7 separate regions of the Homo sapiens genome follow, and regions 1, 2, 3, 4, 5 and 6 are each linked to region 7. The links are contacts of gene promoters, found by promoter capture Hi-C in blood cells and fetal thymus (Javierre and others, 2016). All regions are on one chromosome and are shown on one strand. The core of a region is centred on a gene start or on the middle of the fragment in contact, and the rest is flanking DNA. Distances in the headings are between cores, read along the strand shown. Region 1 holds the start of MTMR11 (myotubularin related protein 11). Region 2 holds the start of H2AC20 (H2A clustered histone 20). Region 3 overlaps GOLPH3L (golgi phosphoprotein 3 like). Region 4 overlaps HORMAD1 (HORMA domain containing 1). Region 5 holds the start of SV2A (synaptic vesicle glycoprotein 2A). Region 6 overlaps GOLPH3L (golgi phosphoprotein 3 like). Region 7 holds the start of CA14 (carbonic anhydrase 14).

Region 1 (2,947 bases), core at 437-2,936, 320 kb after region 7:
GAGGCTCTTGAATGAAGGATGGTGGTGAGAAGGAAAGTGGATAATGGGATTTAAAAGTTATGGTACACACCTCTTCCTATGTCTTTTTTTTTTTTTTTTTTTTTGCGATGGAGTCTTGCTCTGTTGCCCAGGCTGGAGCGTAGTCATTAGATCTTGGCTCACTGCAACCTCTGCTTCCTGGGTTCAAGCGATTCTCCTGCCTCAGCCTCCCAAGTAGCTGGGATTATAGGTGTGAGCCACCACGCCTGGCTAATTTTTGTATTTTCAGTAGAGATGGGGCTTCATCATGTTGGCCAGGTGGTCCTGAACTCCTGACCTCAAGTAATCTGCCTGCCTTGGCCTTCCAAAATGCTTGGGATTACAGGCGTGAGCCACTGCGCCTGGTCCCTATTTTCTTTTTACAACAGACCTTGGGAAATATTTTCTTCCCCCAAGAGGTTGAGGCCCATGGAATGCATTAGGGGCAGGTGGGGTGGTGGTGCTCTGTAGCCTTTAGGACTTCTAGAATCAGGCTTCTGGGCCACCTTCTTAGCAGGTGTATACCTCTTTGTTCCAGACTGACTTTCTGTCTCACAATATCTTCACTATTTCCACAGTTGCAGCCAAGACAGGAAACTGAAAGCTGAGGCCAGAAGGGTGGTGTACTGGGGGGAGGGGAAAATTGAGTGTCACTTTGGAAAACTGGGGCCCCCATCTAAGGATTGCTGCCTCTGTAGATTCAAAAGCAATAAAACAGCAGCTCATTAACTCTTATTTTGTATTTTATTTTCTGTCTTTTTCATGTCTAAATAAAGATTTTTGCTTTGCTGTCCCCAAGTCCCCCTCCTTTAAAGGAGCTGCAGCTCCTTCTCTCCTTGTTCCCAGCTTTCCTTACCCATCTTTGCTTCTAGGGTTGCAGATGGGAGGGACGGGGGATGGACTGCTGAGCTGAAGAGAGGTTTCCAGCCCTCACCTGTGAAAGTCCTGAACATGAATCATTCATTTGGAGATCTGGTGTCTGGGTTGGAGGGGTGGAGTCACATACGGGAATGGGCACTTATTGCCTATTGGTTGTGTATCTACGTGATGGGCAAGATTAACTGGTAAGATCTTTTTGTCCCACCCACATCCCCAAGACTTGCACACAAACTGTACTTGTGTCTGCATCTTGGACACATTTCCATCTCTTTTTATACTTCTCCACTGCAGTCTTCACATGATGTCTGTGTCATGCCCTCTAGAGAAAGATATGCAAAACCACTTTAACCAGTTTCCCTGCTTCCTCACCTAATTCTTGGGCCTCTGCTGACAAAAATCCCCCCAGGTCTAATTTTCATTTTCTTCTGGAAGAGGCGGCAAGGAGGCTTGAACCACTTTCACATTCCTACCCCTCTCCCCGCCCCAAACCCCTTTGAGAAGACAAAAGAACGGAGCTTTTAAGGGAAGTCATCACTGAGACACTCCAGACAGGTAGCCCAGATGATTCCAGCTTCATAATCAATAGAACTGCTCCCCTCAAACGGTCTCCAGTACTCATGAACAGGAAGAGAACAGGGTCTGGGATTGGGGTAAAGAAGGGAGTCGTTTTTCTCTCAGTCCCCATTTCTTCCCCACCCGTCCGTCTCAGACTCCACCGTTTCCTCTCCACTTTTCCAGAATTGTGTGTATTCTCCTTTAAGGGGTTGGGCATCTCTCCCGCCCTCTCCAGAGTCGACTGAAGTTTCCGAGGAGACTTCTCAGGCTGGGCTGGACACACCTTTCCAAGGACCCCCAAACTCTGCTCCGTGCACGTCAAATGCTCCTTTCCCTTGTGTCCAACCCCCTACCCCTCTCCCTAACACCCCTCTTCTCAACAAGACTCAGCCTCTCCCCGAGGTGGGTGAGCATCCTTGAGGTTTCCCACCCTTAACTGCTGTGTCCCCGGATGGAGCCAGAGAAATGTGGTGGGGGGGCCGGGGCCAGAGTTTCAACATTGCCCCCCAGAAGGAGGAGCCAGAGATGGGGGTAAGGAGAAGGAATTTGGGGGGTGTCGGCAAGAGGGTGAGAACGGGGATGAGGTGGAGATAAAAGGGGGAAGCAAAGGCTCTAGAGGAGGAGGAGGAGGGTGTGTCTGTCTATCAGCTTCTGCTGATGGAGCCTGGTCCGTCTTTCTCAGTCTCAAGTTCGTTGTCTCATTATCCATTAACCAGCCCCTCCCTTTACTGTTTACCAGCCCTGTTAGGTCTGGAGCTCCCCACAGACACTGATCTCAGTTTCCCCCGAGAGTGTGAGTGTAGGCCTCTACAGGCAGCTGCCTCTGGGGAGTTGGGGAGCCTAGGGGTTAACTCTAGACCCCCCTCAACCCTCTGGACCAAAGTCTGTCCAGGAAAATAGGATGCCGGAGCCCAGGAGTCGTCAGCCTAGCAGTTGCCTGGCCTCCAGATGCCTCCCAGGTAATAATGCCCTATCACTCTCCAAAGACTTCCAAATTTCATCCTACGCCAATCTTGTTTCATGCCCTCACCAAAGATACCCCTGTGTTCCTCTCGTGGCTCGAAGTACGTCTGCCTGAGGCTCGCTGTCCTCCCTGACAGCCTCTAGAGCTGGCTGAGAGCTGGACCTTGACATTCCTTCTGTTTCCTTGACCCTGTTACCCCTTTTCAAATTTACTTATTCGATACATAGTTAGTGCCTGCTATGTGCCAGGCCTTGTTCTAGGCTCTGTTCTAGTTACAGAAATTAAAAAACATTTATCTTTCCTCATAAGCTTACATTGTAGTGGGCTTTGGGGAGGATTTTAATCTTCCCTATTTAGATCTCCCTTTCTTGGAGGGGTGGGTGTATCCAAGTGTGGGCAACACTGGGAACAGTCATAACAGGGCTTCCCTTCTTCCCCTTTAGGGGAGCAGATCCTAGCATGGGCCCCAGGGGTGAGGAAGGGCCTGGAACCAGAATTGTCTGGAACCCTGATCTGTACCAACTTTAGGGT
Region 2 (2,969 bases), core at 237-2,736, 370 kb after region 7:
ACTTGGCAGTTTAGAGCTCAAGGGGATCATCGGCTTCAGAATCCCCTACTCTTTCGTGAGAGTAACTCTCCGTCTAAGGATGTCTTCTGCAGTTCCTTAGGGTCCATATTGGGATTTCCCGGCTGTAAACTAAACAAAGCAAAGCAAAACAAAACAAAAACCCACAGTGCCTCTCAGTAAAACAAAACCAGTATTTTGTTTGAAAGCCTGCTCTCTTTAAAGATCCTGGCATGCAAATAAGGGGCTTTAATGTGGCTCTCAGCGATTGGTAGATACTTACAAAATCCGTCATTTCCTTTCAGTGCAGGACGCAAACCAAGAGGCGGCTTTCTGCTTTTCTATTGGCTGTTAGATACGGCTCCGCTTTTAGCCAATCAAACGACTTCCCTTCACCCCTCCCGGTAGCTCTTATAAATTACATCAAATTGGTTATTCTTTCCACATTCTTCTCCTTGTAAAAGAAGCTGTAACTGCAATTTTAGCCGTAATGTCAGGACGCGGAAAGCAGGGAGGCAAGGCCCGCGCTAAGGCCAAGTCGCGCTCGTCCCGCGCTGGTCTCCAGTTCCCGGTGGGGCGAGTGCACCGCTTGCTGCGCAAAGGCAACTACGCGGAGCGGGTCGGGGCAGGCGCCCCGGTGTACCTGGCGGCGGTCCTCGAGTACCTGACCGCGGAAATTCTGGAGCTGGCGGGCAACGCGGCTCGGGACAACAAGAAGACGCGCATCATCCCTCGCCATCTGCAACTAGCCGTGAGGAATGACGAAGAGCTCAACAAGTTACTCGGGGGTGTCACCATTGCCCAGGGCGGCGTCTTGCCCAATATCCAGGCTGTCCTGTTGCCCAAGAAAACGGAGAGTCACAAGCCTGGCAAGAACAAGTAATTAAGAGGCTTGACACCATACTCATTCACCCCAAAGGCTCTTTTAAGAGCCACCAAAGTGTCAAATGAAGGGCTGATCACGAAATAGCGCATTAGCTCTTTTTTTGAAAACTTGGGTGGCTCTAAAAAGAGCCTTTGGTCTTGGTTTGTTTGTCTGCATTTATTTGCTTTTGGCTTTGTGGCTTTCGGTTTTCTTTGGTAACAGAACGGCCTGGATGTTAGGCAAAACGCCGCCCTGGGCGATGGTGACTTTGCCCAGCAGCTTGTTCAGTTCCTCGTCGTTGCGGATGGCCAGCTGGAGGTGACGAGGGATGATGCGCGTCTTCTTGTTGTCCCGAGCCGCGTTGCCCGCCAGCTCCAGGATCTCGGCGGTCAGGTACTCGAGGACCGCCGCCATGTAGACGGGCGCGCCGGCCCCCACCCGCTCCGCGTAGTTGCCTTTGCGCAGCAAGCGGTGCACTCGCCCTACCGGGAACTGGAGGCCAGCGCGGGACGAGCGCGACTTGGCCTTGGCGCGGGCCTTGCCTCCTTGTTTGCCACGACCAGACATGACTGAAATCAAGGTTAAACACAGACAACGCTCAGAACCTCGCAACAAAATAAGATTGAAAGAGAACCAAGAGGAAAGCCTTTATAAGCTTTCCTAGGGGTGGGGTCAAGAACGAGTTTTTCATTGGTCCTAATATGGCTTCAGAACCGGCCAATCAAGTCAAGAGTCGGTGTTGTTACGTACGCATTGCTGAAAACGCAAGGTCCGCACACGGACCAATGGAAATGAACGACTTTCGGAGCCCTAATTTGCATAAGGTGGTTATAAAAGAATCAGGCCCGCCCATTCTCTTACTTCTTTTCTTGGCTAAGCCGCGTTTGTACTGTGTCTTACCATGCCTGAACCGGCAAAATCCGCTCCGGCCCCTAAAAAGGGCTCCAAGAAAGCCGTCACCAAAGCCCAGAAGAAAGACGGCAAGAAGCGCAAGCGCAGCCGCAAAGAGAGCTACTCCATCTACGTGTACAAGGTGCTGAAGCAGGTCCACCCCGACACCGGCATCTCGTCCAAGGCCATGGGCATCATGAACTCCTTCGTCAACGACATCTTCGAGCGCATCGCGGGAGAGGCTTCCCGCCTGGCGCACTACAACAAGCGCTCCACCATCACATCCCGCGAGATCCAGACGGCCGTGCGCCTGCTGCTGCCCGGCGAGCTGGCCAAGCACGCCGTGTCCGAGGGCACCAAGGCGGTCACCAAGTACACCAGCTCCAAGTGAGTCCCTGCCGGGACCTGGCGCTCGCTCGCTCGAGTCGCCGGCTGCTTGACTCCAAAGGCTCTTTTCAGAGCCACCCACCTAATCACTAGAAAAGAGCTTGTTCACTTATTCCCTTAGTTTCTTTTCATAAAGTAAGTTATTTTAGTGTGAAGGTCATGGGAAATGGCATACGTAGCTTTTTAACTATTTGGAACTCGAGGTCCCCAGTGCGTCATTGGATTTGCTTTTGAATCTAGAGCGTGTCTTTACTCATTGTGCTGCTTAGCCTTCCCAGGAGTCGGTTCTCAATTAGGCTGTTGGGAATCCGCCTCTTTACCCGCCCCCACTCCCGCCCCACACGCGCCCTGGTGGCTCCTTGGGTCTGTTTCATTCTAAAACGAAGTGGCTGAGTTCGGCTGTCATTTAAGAGAACTCCAGGACACAATTCAGCCCGGGTTCCGCAAACACTGCGTGACAGCTCTGTATGACTGACGCTTGGCAGCAGCTTTTGTGTCCGGTCACCAGTTCTGCCGTGCGATGGGGCCTCCTGTGGATACCAGCCGTTCTGTGTATTTTGGACGAAGGCCGCGCAGCCGGGTCCCAGCCTTGTCCTGATTGGGCGACAAGAATATTCAAAATTCTGCGCCTTTTTCTAATTTGTAGATTTCAGTTTCCGTCGTTCACTTTGAGACTTTGAAATTCCTATTTCTCATTTTGTTGATAATTTCTGCATTTAATGGTCTGTGCTTTAAATGGTAACGCTACGGCCCCAGGTCACTGCGAGGCACTTACCATGTAGATACGGGCTCAAAAGTCACCTCTCAGAGACCTACGTCATCCACTCAG
Region 3 (3,105 bases), core at 196-2,695, 430 kb before region 7:
GCCTCCCGCGTTCAATTCTCCTGTGTCAGCCTCCCAAGTAGCTGGGATTACAGGCATGCACCACCACGCCCGGCTAATTTTTTGTATTTTTAGTAGAAACGGGGTTTTACCACGTTAGCCAGGCTGGTGTCGAACTCCTGACCTCAGGTGATCCGCCTGCCTCGACCTCCCAAAGTGCTGGGATTACAGATGTGAGCCACCACGCCCAGCCCAAAAAGGTTTTTAAAATCAGTCACAGTCAGTCAGTGTCCAACTTGTTGATTATTGGCTATGAATGAAGAAAATTGGCCGCCTTAAAAAGTGACTCAATCCTAAAGCATTTTATTATAATTAAAATATTAATAGCAGGCCGAGCAAAGAACAAGACCTTGTCTTAAAAAAAAAAATTAAAAGTCTAATTTAAGTTACTACCTGGTCTTTCCTTTTAGTTTCCTAATCGCGCAAAATGAACAATAAGTCTCCCAGTAGCTACTGCGATTGTGAATAGGGCAACTGTATCAGAAGGGCTTGTTTGTCAGGTTTTTTTCTTTAAACATAAGCTGTTAAAAAAATTAACTTTTGTTTTTTATTATATCCAGGCATATTAACCCCAAATAACTATTTACTATTGGTATAAAAGGAAATAAACTGGAAGACCAAAGACCTGTTTTAATAGTAGGAAAATATAGCTTAAGCTATTTCATTAAGATCTTCTCCCTAATTCTTCCAATCCCCAAATGCACACAGTACTCTCCCAAAATATAAAATATCTAGTATTGATATTGAGACAAAGCTGCCCACTTGAATTTGGGATTTTGGCTGTAACCACTGTGCCTATAAACTTGCTGTCAGCCATTTCATCACTTTTGCCTCCATATTTTGTTTGTATAATTTATTTTCAAAACATTTTGCAGTTTCTATTGTTTAATCCTGCAAGGCAGGTATCATTCTCTTTATAGGAGTCAAAGTTAAATGATCATTTGGGCAATAAATTGTGGAATTTACATTCAAACTGACTCTGCAACTGGGCGTGGTGTTTCACTGCCTGTATTCCCAGCAGTTTGGGAGGCCAAAATGGGAGGATTACTTCAGGCCAGGAGTTCAAGACAAGCCAGGGCAACAAAATGAGACCCAATCTCTACAAAAAAATGAAAACAGCCCTGCGTGAACCTATAGTCCCAGCTACTCAGGAGGTTGAGGTGAGAGGATCACTTGAGCCCAGGAGTTCGAAGCTGCATTGAGCTATGATCACACCACTGTGCTCCAGCCTGGGCCACAGAGCACGACTCTGTCTCAAAACAGGAAAAACAAAACAAAAACAAATATCTGACTTTGCAGTTTAAAAAGGACATGCTGGCTGGGTGCGGTAGCTCACGCCTGTAATCCTAGCACTTTGGGAGGCCAAGGCAGGCAGATCATGAGGTTAGGAATTCAAGACCAGCCTGGCCAATATGGTAAAACCCCATCTTTACTAAAAATACAAAAATTAGCCGGGTGTGGTGGCACGCACCTGTAATCTCAGCTACTCGGGAGGCTGAGGCAGGAGAATTGCTTGAACCAGGGAGGCAGAAGTTGCAGTGAGCCAAGGTTGCGCCACTGCACTCTAGCCTGGGCAACAGAGCAAGACTCTGTCTCAAAAAAAAAAAAAAAAAAGACATACTTACAAAGCAAGTTTCACATGTTTCTCTGTATTTCTTCCTGAAATAAAGAGAATTGTTCAGGATCGTTAACTGTTTAGTGTGACCCAAATAATTTCACCTCCTTGAATAGATTCTTATGGATTTTATTTTTTATATTTTTATTTTTATTTTTTGAGATGGACTCTCATTCTGTTGCCCAGGCTAGAGTGCAGCGGTGCGATCTCAACCCACTGCAACCTCCACCTCGTGGGTTCAAGCAATTCTCTTGCCTCAGCCTCCTGAGTAGCTGGGACTATAAGGTGCATGCCACCACGCCTGGCTAATTTTTTATTTTTAGTAGAGACAGGGTTTCACCATATTGGCCAGGCTAGTCTCAAACTCCTGACCTCAAGTGATCCACCTGCTTCAGCCTCCCAAAGTGCTGGGATTACAGGCATAAGCCACTGCATCTGGCCAGATTCATATGGATTTTAATTTATGCCTCCTATTAAGATAAAAGATTATTATGTTTCACAATAATATTTGGCATATGAGTTATTTTTCAGGTCTTATCCATATCTTTCTTGTTCAAATGTTTAATACCCCAGCAAAGCTCACTCCTGGAAAAAGATTTTGGGATCCTATAAAAAACATTAACTAGGCATCAATAATGTCAGAAAAAGGGAAAATACTACTGTAAGGAATTCTGAATGATTTTATTAGTTTTATTTTTACTTCAAATTTTCCATTCCATTGCCTCAAATATTAAGGAGGAAATAGGAAAATTCTATACATTATTTTTCTCTTCTCCTTTTTGAAACAAGATATTCTAGTCATAAAGGGCAACAAGTCCAAGTAAGAAGTTTGAATAACCCAACTGGCAAAAGGAAGATATGTTTAACGAATAAGTAAATAATATTTAATTATAATTATCATATTATCGCTGGGCATGGTGGCTCACACCTGTAATCCCAGCACTTTGGGAGGCCGAGGCGGGTGGATCACCTGAGGTCAGGAATTTGAGACCAGCCTGGCCAACATGGTGAAACCCCATCTCTACTAATAATACAAAAATTAGCTGGGCGTGGTAGTGCATGCCCGTAATCCCAGCTACTTGGGAGGCTGAGGCAGGAGAATTGCTTAAACCCAGGAGGCGGAGTTTGCAGTGAGCTGAGATCGCACCATTGCACTACAGTCTGGGCAGCAAGAGTGAAACTCTCTCCAAAAAAAAAATTAAAATAATCACATCAGAAGGTCTAGTGTACAAATAGTCATTATTTTTCTTGTCAGTTCACTCTTCAGCTATAGATTAGAACCCATGTCACACATGTTCCTTATGGAAGGAGGGAGACACTATTATACTAAAAAGAGATAAATATGAGTAAGCAAATAGTTATTTTTTCTTGCATCTTAAAGCTTAAAACCAAGGCTGGGCATCATGTCTCACACCTTTAATCTCAGCACTTTGGGAGGCTGAGGCAGGAGGATTGCTTGAGCCCAGGAGTTT
Region 4 (3,076 bases), core at 418-2,917, 450 kb before region 7:
TACCTTTAAACAGATTAGCATGACAGAGATTATGTGACTGATCTTAGGCCACAAAGCTTACAAACTGTTAGAAACTTAACTTAAATCTCCTGACGTCTAATTCTTTATAGTATTTTTTATACTACATTTTAGAATTATGAAAGGGCTTGAGTTTTAGGAAAGTAAGAAAGTCATCCTTAAACTTCGAATATTCATCCCAATCCATTCATAGCTACCTATTTATCTTACCATTAAAGGAGAGAAGGGAGAACGTGAAAGGGAAAACCAGAAGATAAGAAACAAGGGGGAAAGATCTACTGAGTGCTTACTTTATATTAGGCTCTGTTCTTTGGGGCTTTATGTGCATTATCTCATTTATTCATCCCAACCTTCATGAGGTAACCACTATTAGCATCTCCGCTTTACAGATGAGGAAATCTAAGTACAAGGGGTTTCTTGCCTAAGGTCATAGTGGCTGAAGTGGCAGAACCAGGTTTTTGAACCTAGGAAGGCCAGTTCACAATTTGGGTGTTTACCCATTACGCTATAGCTGTTACAATATAACGTTTCATTCAGTCAAGGAGAGGTAGATTTAAACTGGTGTTAAAAATAGACGTTTAAAAACATCACTATGTAAGCAATGAAATATAAAGAAAGCAATAGAAGTATTCAGGCTTCAGGAGGGCTGAGAATGTGTCTTTTCTTTGATACTCACACCTGCGATTAATGCTTAATATGTATCCATGCTGACAAAGCAGATCATTTGGGTAAAGGCTGTGAATTAATAGATTGTGTTCAGAAAACTAATTGATTGTTCAGAAAATGTTCATTTATTTTCATATGTTATATAGTTGTGCATTTTTTCTATCAGTAAATTAGCAACCTTGTTGATACAATAATAATATTTATTGAATGTTTACTATATGTCAGGTACTTTATAAAGTACCCTGTATAAATTATCCCATTTGTGAATATTTATTCACAACTATCAATGAGATATGTACTGTCTTTAATCTCTTTTTTAGCTGGGGAAACTAATACTTAAACTAAGGCTTAAGTGGCTTGCCTGTGGTTACAGTATAGCAAAGATTTATGCCCTGTGTTAGCCACTCTGCTGAGGTATGTTGCCTCCCTTATCTGCCTGCTAAGGAGTTCCTTCCATGTGGTATAAATAACTGAAGGGGTGGCCTGCCCCTCCACACCTGTGGGTATTTCTAGTCGGGTGGGACGAGAGACTGAGAAAAGAAATAAGACACAGAGACAAAGTATAGAGAAACAATAGTAGGCCCAGGGGACCGGCGCTCAGCATACCAAGGACCTGCACCGGCGCCGGTCTCTGAGTTCCCTCAGTTTTTATTGATTATTATCTTCATTATTTTAGTAAAAAGGAATGTAGTAGGAGGGCAGGGTGATAATAAGGAGAAGGTCAGCAACAAACATGTGAGCAATAGAATCTATGTCATAATTAAGTTCAAGGGAAGGTACTATGACTGGACGTACACGTAAGCCAGATTTGTTTCTCACCACCCAAACATCTCAGTGGAGTAAAGAATAACAAGGCAGCATTGCTGCAAACATGTCTCGCCTCCCACCATAGGGCGGTTTTTGTCCTATCTCAGAATTGAACAAATGTACAATCGGGTTTTATACCGAGACATTCAGTTCCCAGGGGCAGGCAGGAGACAGTGGCCTTCCTCTATCTCAACTGCAAGAGGCTTTCCTCTTTTACTAATCCACCTCAGCACAGACCTTTTATGGGTGTCGGGCTGGGGGACGGTCAGGTCTTTCTCATCCCACAAGGCCATATTTCAGACTATCACATGGGGAGAAACCTTGGACAATACCCCGCTTTCAAGGGCAGAGGTCCCTGCGGCTTTCCGCAATGCATTGTGCCCCTGGTTTATTGAGACTAGAGAATGGCGATGACTTTTACTAAGTATACTGCTTGTAAACATTTTGTTAACAAGGCACGTCCTGCACAGCCCTAGATCCCTTAAACCTTGATTTCATACAACATATGTTTCTGTGAGCTCCAGATTGGATCAAAGTGGTTGGGTCAAAGTGGCTGGGGCAAAGCTACAAATTAACAACATCTCAGCAAAGCAATTATTTAAAGTACAAGTCTTTTTCAAAATGGAGTCTCTTATGTCTTCCCTTTCTACATAGACACAGTAACAGTCTGATCTCTCTTTTCCCTACAATAACATACATTACAATGAGTTGGGAAATAAATGTCTCTCCAAGACTGAAGCCCCAAACCCAAACCATGAAAACTGACTATGAGGAATCAAAAGTTTCAATGGATCAATAGGGATTAATATGGCAGAAAAAAGTATTGACTAAATGTTGAGTCATACAAAACAGAATATAGCTATTTAGCAGCTAGTACTGAATATCAGAAGCATAACTGCGATATTTTCTATTTAAGACAATTTCAGAATGTTACCAATTCAAATTCAAATACACCAATAATGGACCACTCATGGACTTCATAAGGTATTGTTCTATAGTTTTCTGTTTGTATTACAGATTACCACTTATTCATATTAATGCTATATAGCTAAACCTCAGGATTCATTCTGAAACTGCGGGGACATCCCCAATTAACCATCAAGATGTGGCTATGCAAAATGGAGTGGTGGCTTGCAGTAGCTTCAAGCCAGGATTCTGTGGCTAATAATAAGCAATTTTAATTGTGGAAAGAGAACTTAGGTGATTAGAAATATAGAAATATAATTTTAAAACATAATGTGCTTTCTTTAAACACTTCATATAAAATGCACTTAAGTAAAATTAAGTTATTATTTCTAGCAGATATTAATATTAAAATTTTATAATAGTGACATTAAAACACATGGTAACTTTCAAGTTAACAGCTTAATGCTATAATAGAAATAAGAATCTCAAATAGTTAAAATGTAAAGTTATGATATTAGAAGCCACAGGTTTTATAAAATAAATTAATATGTGATTCTCTTCTAGTAAAAACCAAAGCAACGAATCTAGCATGTTGTCTACTGACACCAAGAAAGCAAGCATTCTCCTCATTCGCAAGATTTATATCCTAATGCAAAATCTGGGGCCTTTACCTAATGAT
Region 5 (2,877 bases), core at 164-2,663, 340 kb after region 7:
GTAGATATGAGTTTTCAGTCTGAGTGACAGTTAAATATTTATGATAAATTAATATTTATGTATTATGGCTTTATATTTCAGAAGATTGTGAACTTTGTTGGCATGAATGATTATTTCCAAGATCCAGCTTTGGAGTCTGCAAAGCCCAGGCCCGTGTCCCTGTCAGAGGTAAATTCAACCTGGCAAATGTTACCTGTGTGGTCTCTTCGGACATAGCCTGTCAGCCTTCTCCATGTATATATATCAGCATTCTGAAGCCTCCACATTTAGTAAGGCAGAATCACACGCTATTAGATCTGAGAGGGACCTGATGCAGTATCTAGTCCAAGCCCCCCTTTTCCAGATGAGAAACCTGAAGTTCACAGATGTGGAGAACTTGACCAAGAGTTGACAGCTTGTTAGCAGTGAGAACCCAGGTCCAAGCCCAGGTCAGTGCTGTCTGGAAGGTCCTGACCTTATCTGGCATAGACACATTCAGGATGTATTTCCCCAAATCACCATATTCCCTCTCACTCCTTCGGCAGGGATGGTCATCAAGTGTCACCAAGTGGCATGTCTTGGATCTCTGAGTCCAGGTTATTGATGCAAGAGCAAAGGAAAGATGAAGGGAAAAGCTGAAACAATTTACTTCTTCCTGCCCGGGAAGTACAAGTGTGTGGAGGGGAGGGGAGGGAGGTAGAGGAGAGTAAGAGAAAATGGAGAAGGGTATTGAGAGGATCCTTTTTGAGTCATTGGAGCAAATTAATGGAAGGGGAACTGTCCGGTTGGTCAGGTCTGTAAAAATCCCTCAACTTCCCCAGTACTTCTGCTACCACCAACTGAATGGACAGGATGAGGAGGTGTCCACTGTAAATAAGTAACCTGGACTGTTTTGTGAGGAAAGAGATGGAAGGAATCCAGGGGTCTCTGACTCTGGCAGTTCAGGATAGAAACCACACCTTGTTATCTCTGCTTTCTCTAAAATGTCCAGGTAAACTTGGAATAGGAGCACTCTGGATTTGGGAGACTGTTGTGAAAAAGGAGTTTGAGAGCAGTGGAGAAGGCAAGGGAGGTGTTTTGAAGGCAGCAAAAGCCCCTGAAATTATTGGGTCCTGCCATACTGAGACTGGGGTGCTAAGGAAGGGGCTGCCACATTCCCCATCTCCCTGTCTTCCCACTTGTCTTCCTAACATCACTGTTTTTTTCTTTAGTTCCTTCTATCTTTTACTAGGAAGGGCCTGGGAAGGGCTGGGTGCCATTTCCAGCTGTTCTTGTGACAACCTCCGGCCCTTTCATCATTTCTCCCCGTGCCCTGACTCCCTCCCCATCCTCTTTTCTCCTCTCCCCACCAATGGTCTCTCCCGATGCTCAGTGGCGCGGGGTAGGGGGGGGCGGAGGCGGGGCTGGAGTGGTGGAAGGGGGGTGGCAGGTCTGCATTGCCGCTTCCCTGGTGCCGGGAGCAGTCGCCGCTGCCGCCTCCGCCCGCGGCCGGGACCCCCGTCCTCGCCCGGGACTCCTTACCCGGGGAACCTAGACCAGGTGAGACCCCTTTCTCAGTCGCTCACCTCCTCCCCGCCCCTGGCAGAAGCATCTTTGCCTTGCCTTGCAGCCATTTTATCCTCCGATGCTTTGCTTATGGGGAGGGTGACGATCCCCTCTCTAGGGGTGAGGGGGGTTGGTGGGTTGGTGGTGGTTTGGGGATGGACATTTATTTCAGTTGTGCTCTTCAGGACACACACACACACACGCATATGTATAATATTGGTGAATGGGGAGGAGGGGTGTTTTTCTCTACCTTAACCAAGTCCCCACTATCCCCTTCGGAGATTAACGTGGTGGTGGGGTTGTGAGGTGGGATGAGGTTCCCTCAAACTCCTATCCCCTCCTCACCTTGACGTCCCCCCACCCCCAGGATGAATGATAAATGACCTTGGCTGGGGCTGGAGAATGGATGCTGCCTCAGTGTGCACGCCTGGACTTGGGTGGGTGGGGGGCAGGGGAAGAAGGGCAGGTGAAGGATGGAGGGAAGGGGAGTGAAGAATGGAAATACTGGGGAGACAGAGATGTAGAGCCGCCAGGTGTTGGGGGCATGGATGGCGGGGGCTGGCGGCAGTTGCTCCGGGGTGGGGGGAAGGGATGTTGAGTGAAGGTGGACACTTGTCTAGCAGCAGGACCAAGGGTGGAGGAGGTGCTCAGAGCAGGGATTTAGTCAGTTCTGGGGGCTTTTCCCTTATTCCGGAGCTGAGGCAAGATGGGGTGTGGGGGGGTCGCTGCAAATGCTGATAGGGGCGGTCTCTATGTCTGTGCATGCGGAGGTCTCTCCCTGCGTCCCCCTCTCTGCCTCTCCGTATTCCTCAGTGTGCATTCTCAGCTGACACCCTCATTTTTATCCCTCAGAACTGTGGGTGCTCCTATCTTCCTAACCTTGGTAGGATGTGGGGAGGGGAGGCGCAGTCTTGATGGTCCTGGGTGGGGGCTGAAGTTCGATGACCGGGCTGTCATGGGGAAGGGGTGCTCCCGCACCTCCCACATTCTACCCCCGCCCCCGCGGACGTTTTGATAAGTGATTGCTTTTTAATGACCTTGTCACCTGAGCTAGGAAGGCCTGGGGATCTGGGTGGACCCCAAAGTCAGGGGCTTTGACTGGGAGGGTGGGGGGTTCTGGACCCAGGGCTGGATGAGCTGTTCTGAAAGAAAGCATTTGCTCTGGAGTCCCCTGCCTGTCTCCACCCTCTGCAGAAAATCTCCTGGGCACATTTTTTCCTGTCAGGTGAAGTCAGCCAGCCTAGGACCTTGTAACCCTGAACCTTGTCTCCTTTAACCTCCACCTCTCCAAGTCTTGTCTCACTCCCCCAGGCTTAGCCACCCTGTGCTGTTTTGGGGGCTAAAAATAGCACC
Region 6 (2,809 bases), core at 180-2,679, 390 kb before region 7:
TGAGTTAGGGTAGCTTATTGTTCAGCCAGTGTTGGTTCAGTGGTTGTGCTTTAGCCCTTGGTGCCAGTGAAGCATCCACCCTTTTTTGATAGATCTATGTGTGGTCTGGGGAATACTCTCAAGTCAAGCCCCACGTCCTGCTCTGATTGCTCCTGAGTGGGTGCAGCCTGGTGCAAGCACACAGTCTTCCCAACCCCCAGTGTTGGTCATGATTCCAGAAGGACTTTTCTTGGCTTTCTGTTTCTCTGGTTCTGCCTGTTAAACTTCTGGAGGCTTTGCCATTTGGGTTTGTCATACCAGTGCCATAGAGCTAGCAGCACCTTGTAATTGCTCTCCACCAAGATCTCTATGGTTTTCAACACCCTTAGGCATAGAATTCTCCACACTGTGTTCCAAATAAAGTCAGTCCTCTCAGGCAGAGCTTTGGAGCTCTTCATTCTTCAGGCCTTCCTTCCCTCCTGGGCAGAACTTCTGCACAAGGGCCCACTTCTCCTACAGTGATACCCACCTGCTGTATGAGTAGGTGCTGGGGGAAAGAGGTGTTAGCCCCTGGTCTTCTTGACTTGCCTTTTCTGTTGCAGAATCTCTAATCTACGAACAAGCTGGAATGGGAGCAATTGAAGTCTAAATATTGTCAGCCTACCAGGCCTGGGATAGAGCTTCTGCTCTACAAATAGGGTAGGGAACCTCAGTCCTCTTAGCTTCACCAGCAAATAGAACTTCCACAATATAGAGTAGAAATCATCTGGGAGAGACTGGTGTCCTAAATAGAATTTGAAAAATACATAAATAATTACAGTGTCACAGAGGTCACATAAGAACAGAAATAAAGTCTATAAGCTCTAGCAATATGGAAGTCCTTGGTGACATTTTTTGAAGCTGGTTTAATGTGAAATGTGGTTGGAGTCAAAGCCAGATTATAAAGGACTAAGGATTAAATGAATTGAGGAATGAAGATTATGCTTTTAAACATTTTAGCCATTCAAGTTTCCAAACAACTACATGTTTCATTTTGCTTTTCTCTTTCAGTTCATTATGTCCTATTTCTTTTTTCTCATAGGTGAGACCTGGAACCCCTTCAAATTACAGTACCAGCTGAGAAATGTACGAGAGCGCATCGCAAAGAACCTAGTAGAGAAAGGTATTCTAACCACTGAGAAGCAGAATTTCCTGCTATTTGACATGACTACTCATCCAGTGACCAATACAACAGAGAAACAGCGACTAGTGAAAAAACTTCAAGATAGTGTACTAGAGCGGTGGGTAAATGACCCTCAGCGTATGGACAAGCGAACACTAGCACTCCTGGTGCTAGCCCACTCCTCTGATGTGCTAGAGAATGTCTTCTCCTCTCTGACAGATGACAAGTATGATGTGGCAATGAATCGAGCCAAGGACTTAGTAGAACTGGACCCTGAAGTGGAAGGGACAAAGCCTAGTGCCACAGAAATGATCTGGGCTGTGCTGGCAGCCTTCAATAAATCTTAAAGCCGGCAGGTGGATTTCTCCTTTTCCCCTGCTGGCTGGTGACTGTCAGAGACCCCATCACTGAGTTTTGTGTGATGAGATGTTTTCATCATTTTTGTTTCCTTTTCTTGAATCAGACTTGTGATTTGGGGAGAGCAACTTCAGGGCTTCTCCATAGACCTTGACCATTATAAGCAGACCTTATTTCTCCCTACACTTCCACTCCATAGGTAAATAAACTGGGTGAAGCCACACACACCCAATGAACATTTTCTCCCATTTGGTGGTTTAGTTTCACCCAGTGTGCTTTTGGATAAGCAGAAATATCTAAATGGGATTTTGAGTTCTCCAGCTATAGAATGTGAATGAGATAAAAAGTGAACTATCTATTATATTTTTCTGAGTTTGTTTTCTATCATAAATACATGTTTTCACAGCCTTTGTCTCTCAGACTCTGCTAAATAATGTAGCTTATTGAAATAACTGTCGCTGAATAAGGAGCAATGAGAAACAAAACTAATTTTTGGAGCAGATGGTCTCTGGAATTGCATATCCTGCTAGTGATTTTCTCATCTTTCCTTTTCTAACCTAATGAGAATGTCCCAGATTCAATTACCTGGATGTCAAAGTCCTAGAGCCAGAAATATATTCTCTCATCCCTCTTAGCATTCTCTTGCTCCCTCATTCACTAGGGCAAATGTCTAAATGAAGAAAAGTCTCTCTCAACACCTCGTTCATGCAATCAGCATTAGAATTTGTAAGGAAGGAAGGGGGGTGGCATGAAAATTTCCATTCTTGGGGTATATGACTGTCCTGTTTCCCCCAGGCCACTTTTTTTTTTTTTTTCTTTTGAGACAGGGTCTTGCTCTTGCCCAGGCAGGAGTACAGTAGTGCAATCACAGCTGACTGCAGCCTTGACCTCCAGGGCTCAAGGATCCTCCTGCCTCAGTCTCCCAACTAAGTGGGACTACAGGCACGTGCCACCATACTCAGCTTTTTTTTGTTTGTTTTAGACAAGAGTCTCGCTTTGTTGCCCAGGCTGGTCTTGAATTCCTGGGCTCAAGCAATTCTTCCACCTCAGCCTCCCAAAGTGCTGAGATTACTGGCTTGAGCCACTGCACCCACCCCTCCAGACTACTTTAAATGTCTCTGCTCTGACTGAATTGAAGGAATTGTAAGTTTCAGTTGCTGAATATATCAGTATATCTGAACTCCAGATCTTTTTATTTCCTATTTTTGGCTTCCTACATAAATTAATAAAGTCTGTCTATATTTAAGGTTTCTGGGAGTAGTTTTGTCTATATTTAATCCATAGATGTGCTCCTAGTCATCAGTCTTATTT
Region 7 (3,157 bases), core at 633-3,132:
AATTGCATGAATAAAGCCACTGAGCTGTAAACTCATATGTAAATTCTTCTTTTCTGGTCCCATTAGCTCTAGAGGAAACTCCTCATCACCAGGAGGCTCTGCTCCCTACATTCTGAGATGGTTAGGGAAGGGTGGGAGTCAGGGCAGGGTCTACTCTAGATTGAGGGTGGTGGGTGGGCACAGGCAGCCAGGCTGGCAGGGACAGGATGAAAGTGAAGCATTGTGTGTAGAGAAGAGAGCTGCCAGCTGGGTCACATGCCAGGCTCTCGTGCAGTCCTGTCTGACGCAAAGGCTGAGGGTCTGCAGGTCCAGCCCCTCCCTACGGCCAAACTGCCTCAAGAAGAAAACGAAGGCCTTCATGGTTTATGCTGCAATATTCATACTACTAGAAACTCTGGAGAAAAATCCTAAATTCCTTCCTCTCTCTGTCTCTTATTCCCTTAAATTCCTCAAACTTGTGAGATGTCCTGCTCTTATCCTTGACCTATTCTGCTAGCCCAAGGGAGAGCTGGAGGCAGCCTCTCATTTTACCATATCTGTGGGACCCCCCAACAACTCAAACTCCCTGGTCTGTAAAGGTGCCTGTCCACTCTGGTCAGAGCCTCAACACACTTATTCTGTCTCTTCCTCCTCTTTCCCTCTTTTTTTCTTTCTCCTCAGATGAGATTTGTGACTCTCCATTTGGCTGCCTGCCTGCCCCCATCCTCTCTGCATTTGCCTTCTGCTCTCTGGACACCCACCTCACCCTGCTCTTTCCACAAACCTCAGTTACACACCTAGTATGTGCTGGACACTGTGCTAGGCACAGGAAACACAAAAATGAGGTCTAGGAGTTCCTGGGGACACTCCTGGAGCGCTTCAGCCTGTTCTCCCAAGAATCCCTCCTCATCTCCTGGGAGCTCCTGAAAGTCCTTTGTAAACTGTAAAATGTCAAACAAATGTTGACTCTTACTGCCACTTTCAGAGGATAACTGGGGAGTTAGTCGCTCCACAGAATGAAGAGGGAATCTTGGCCAAAAGGGGATGAATTGGAGATCAGGGTCTGAGTTGGGCAGGAAGTATTCTTCCCCCTACCCCCATCTATCCATCTTTTTACTCCAGGCCTCTTTGACTCCCTATTTGGAGGAGTTTGTAAATAAAGAAGTCCAGGAGTCCTGCCTGGGACCAGGGCAGTGGGGGAAAGAGCTCTGGAGAAAATCTGTAGCCTGCAAAGAGATTCCAGCACTTGCATGTGTACACACTCTGCCTGCCTGCCGCTAGTTCTCCCCGACCTCCAATAACAACAAGGCTGGAGAGACAAAAGGTAAAGAAGGGAAGTGGTCTCCTCCACACCCCACTCTTTTTTCCTCATCTCTGAGCCTATTATTCCAGCCTCTAGGCTTCCTTTCACACCTCTCCTCCCCCCATTAAGCACACCTGGCGACATGTGAACATCAGCACAAATCCACACACAGACATTTAGTTGTACCTACCCCCATCTGCAGCCAGGATCCAAATCACCTCCAGCAGGAGGGCGGAGAACAACATAGTGTCCCAGGAAGGGGTGCAGGGGACTGGGAATTTGAGGACTAGAGGACTAGGACAGGCAGAGAGAGAGGGAGGGAGGAGTGAGAGAGAGAGAGAGAGAGCGAGCGAGCTCCTGGCGTGAGTGTATTTATCTCTGCTTCTCTTGCTGTCTCTGTCTCTGTGGGCTTCCAGGGGATTCGGTGTTCAGTAGGGTATCATGGGTTTCTGGATCCCCAGGACAAATCTCTTGCTGCCTCTTTGCCCTCTCTCTTTATCTCCCTCTGCAGTCTCCACTCCACTAGCTGGCCAGCGACTTTACAACTGCCTCCTGCTTTTAAGGTGGCTCTGAACTGGTGTATGTGGGGACGGGGGTGCTGCCTGGGCTGCTGGTGAACAGCTCCTTAAATAGCCAATTAGGCATGCAGGATGGCCCCACTCGGAGCTGGAGCGCGGCAAGTTTCACTGGAGCCCTGGCCCTGGCTCAGGAGCCCAGCTGGGGTGAGCTCTTCCTTCCTCTGCTAGTCACACAGATGCTGTTTAGATGGGTGTTCCCTGGAGCAGGCAGGGTCAAGGAAGGGGCTTTGGGGTTCAACTCAGCCCCCTCAAAAGGACACTGTATTTTCATCCCCCCGCCTGATTTCTCCTCTGAGGAGCAGCTCCCTGGGTGGTATGCGGCAGATGGTGGGGGTACCTGTTCCCAATTCCCTGCATAATCTGAGCTGCCCTGGAATGGGAAGAGTCCAGAATTAGGAGATATATAACAAGAAGGAATTAGGGACTCAGGGTGCAGGGGAGGGGTGGAGGAAGTCAATAACTAAAACCTGAGTTGTGTCCTAAGTTCTAAGGAAGAGAAGTGAGGCAAGGAGAACTCATCTGGAGCAATCTCTTCTGTGCCTGCCACCACCCCCTTCCCACGGTGAGGCCTGGGTCCACGTGCCTGTGTGGCCTGGGGTGGGGGGAGTGCGGGGAGGGAGCGTTGTTTGCTGGATAAAGCCCATTTGTATGCCCAGTGGGGGAGGGGTGTAGCAGCACCATGGAGAGACAGCGGCTGTAACTGCCAGACCCAGCCACCTCCCTCTCCAGGGAGCCCAGATCTAGGGCGGCTTTTGTCACTGAAGAGGACACTGACCTCCGGCAGAGAGGCCAGGGCAGGAGGAAAGGAGAGACTTTAGGAACAATCACTACCACCATCAGAAAAAGGTGGTTTCCAGAGAAAGAGAGGGGAGGGTCTGGAGAGACCATGTGATCCAGATGGAAGAGGGGCTCAGGGTCTTCCTTCCAGCCCAACAAAGGGCTGAGGCAGGACATGTGGCACTGAATGAAACCTGCCACCAAGGAGCTGCGTCCGTGGAGCATGGAGGCTGCACGTCTCAGGAATGTGAACTGATGTTTGCTCCCCACGGGACTGGAAATCCCGATTGGAATGTACATCCTAAATCCCTCGTTAGAGAATGTGAAACCCACAGATACTTTCAAGCCAGACATTGAAACCTCTTTCTCCTCCATGCTCTTCACCAGAGGCACCAGCCAGGAGGATGCACCCATCTGAAGCTCCCTCTGCCCTCCTTGCTCCTGCCGAGTAGCAATAAATAGCCAAACAAAGGGAGCAGAAGCTAAATAAGGGAGCAGGATAAAAGCCAAATGAACAGAA

Evidence for each region. The method cuts DNA at HindIII sites, captures the fragments that hold promoters and counts their contacts. A CHiCAGO score of 5 or more calls a contact.
Region 1: a contact is called between the fragment with the promoter of MTMR11 here and the fragment with the promoter of CA14 in region 7, in 1 of 17 cell types (neutrophils). The highest score is 6.2, in neutrophils.
Region 2: the fragment with the promoter of H2AC20 here is called in contact with the fragment with the promoter of CA14 in region 7 in 1 of 17 cell types (neutrophils); the score reaches 5.5 in neutrophils.
Region 3: a fragment that was not itself captured here is called in contact with the fragment with the promoter of CA14 in region 7 in 1 of 17 cell types (M2 macrophages); the score reaches 5.0 in M2 macrophages.
Region 4: a fragment that was not itself captured here is called in contact with the fragment with the promoter of CA14 in region 7 in 1 of 17 cell types (M2 macrophages); the score reaches 5.5 in M2 macrophages.
Region 5: a contact is called between the fragment with the promoter of SV2A here and the fragment with the promoter of CA14 in region 7, in 7 of 17 cell types (neutrophils, monocytes, naive B cells and 4 more). The highest score is 12.0, in neutrophils.
Region 6: a fragment that was not itself captured here is called in contact with the fragment with the promoter of CA14 in region 7 in 1 of 17 cell types (M2 macrophages); the score reaches 5.6 in M2 macrophages.

Annotation. Positions count from the first base shown.
Region 1 is chr1:149,935,618-149,938,564 of GRCh38, reverse strand. It overlaps MTMR11 (myotubularin related protein 11), which reads left to right and starts at 1,686. Exons shown (of 17, transcript NM_001145862.2): 1 at 1,686-1,983; 2 at 2,336-2,411; 3 at 2,860-2,947. The coding sequence starts at 1,918. OTUD7B (OTU deubiquitinase 7B) reads left to right here. Exons shown (of 12, transcript NM_020205.4): 12 at 1-753. RefSeq lists an enhancer at 1,896-2,420. The HindIII fragment of the contact is 11,640 bases long and covers 1-2,727 here.
Region 2 is chr1:149,885,435-149,888,403 of GRCh38, reverse strand. It overlaps H2AC20 (H2A clustered histone 20), which reads right to left and starts at 1,486. Exons shown (of 1, transcript NM_003517.3): 1 at 993-1,486. The coding sequence starts at 1,429. The coding sequence ends at 1,040. It overlaps H2BC21 (H2B clustered histone 21), which reads left to right and starts at 1,722. Exons shown (of 1, transcript NM_003528.3): 1 at 1,722-2,969. The coding sequence starts at 1,764. The coding sequence ends at 2,144. It overlaps H2AC21 (H2A clustered histone 21), which reads left to right and starts at 439. Exons shown (of 1, transcript NM_175065.3): 1 at 439-935. The coding sequence starts at 488. The coding sequence ends at 880. RefSeq lists enhancers at 369-658, 679-818, 1,229-1,288, 1,419-1,488, 1,809-2,098 and 4 more. The HindIII fragment of the contact is 4,135 bases long and covers 1-1,519 here.
Region 3 is chr1:150,684,402-150,687,506 of GRCh38, reverse strand. The region is part of intron 2 of GOLPH3L (golgi phosphoprotein 3 like); the gene reads left to right. Among named protein-coding and RNA genes, the nearest start is that of GOLPH3L, 11 kb to the left of the region's middle. The HindIII fragment of the contact is 3,143 bases long and covers 1-3,016 here.
Region 4 is chr1:150,708,293-150,711,368 of GRCh38, reverse strand. It overlaps HORMAD1 (HORMA domain containing 1), which reads left to right. Exons shown (of 15, transcript NM_032132.5): 8 at 2,408-2,475; 9 at 2,962-3,076. Among named protein-coding and RNA genes, the nearest start is that of HORMAD1, 11 kb to the left of the region's middle. The HindIII fragment of the contact is 3,217 bases long and covers 59-3,076 here.
Region 5 is chr1:149,916,380-149,919,256 of GRCh38, reverse strand. It overlaps SV2A (synaptic vesicle glycoprotein 2A), which reads left to right and starts at 1,413. Exons shown (of 13, transcript NM_014849.5): 1 at 1,413-1,518. RefSeq lists a silencer at 1,500-1,569. The HindIII fragment of the contact is 16,072 bases long and covers 1-2,877 here.
Region 6 is chr1:150,647,000-150,649,808 of GRCh38, reverse strand. GOLPH3L (golgi phosphoprotein 3 like) reads left to right here. Exons shown (of 5, transcript NM_018178.6): 5 at 1,061-2,809. The coding sequence ends at 1,488. Among named protein-coding and RNA genes, the nearest start is that of ENSA, 19 kb to the right of the region's middle. RefSeq lists an enhancer at 2,443-2,809. The HindIII fragment of the contact is 2,900 bases long and covers 1-2,809 here.
Region 7 is chr1:150,256,499-150,259,655 of GRCh38, reverse strand. It overlaps CA14 (carbonic anhydrase 14), which reads right to left and starts at 1,882. Exons shown (of 11, transcript NM_012113.3): 1 at 1,473-1,882. The coding sequence starts at 1,527. RefSeq lists an enhancer at 2,998-3,157. The HindIII fragment of the contact is 8,593 bases long and covers 1-3,157 here.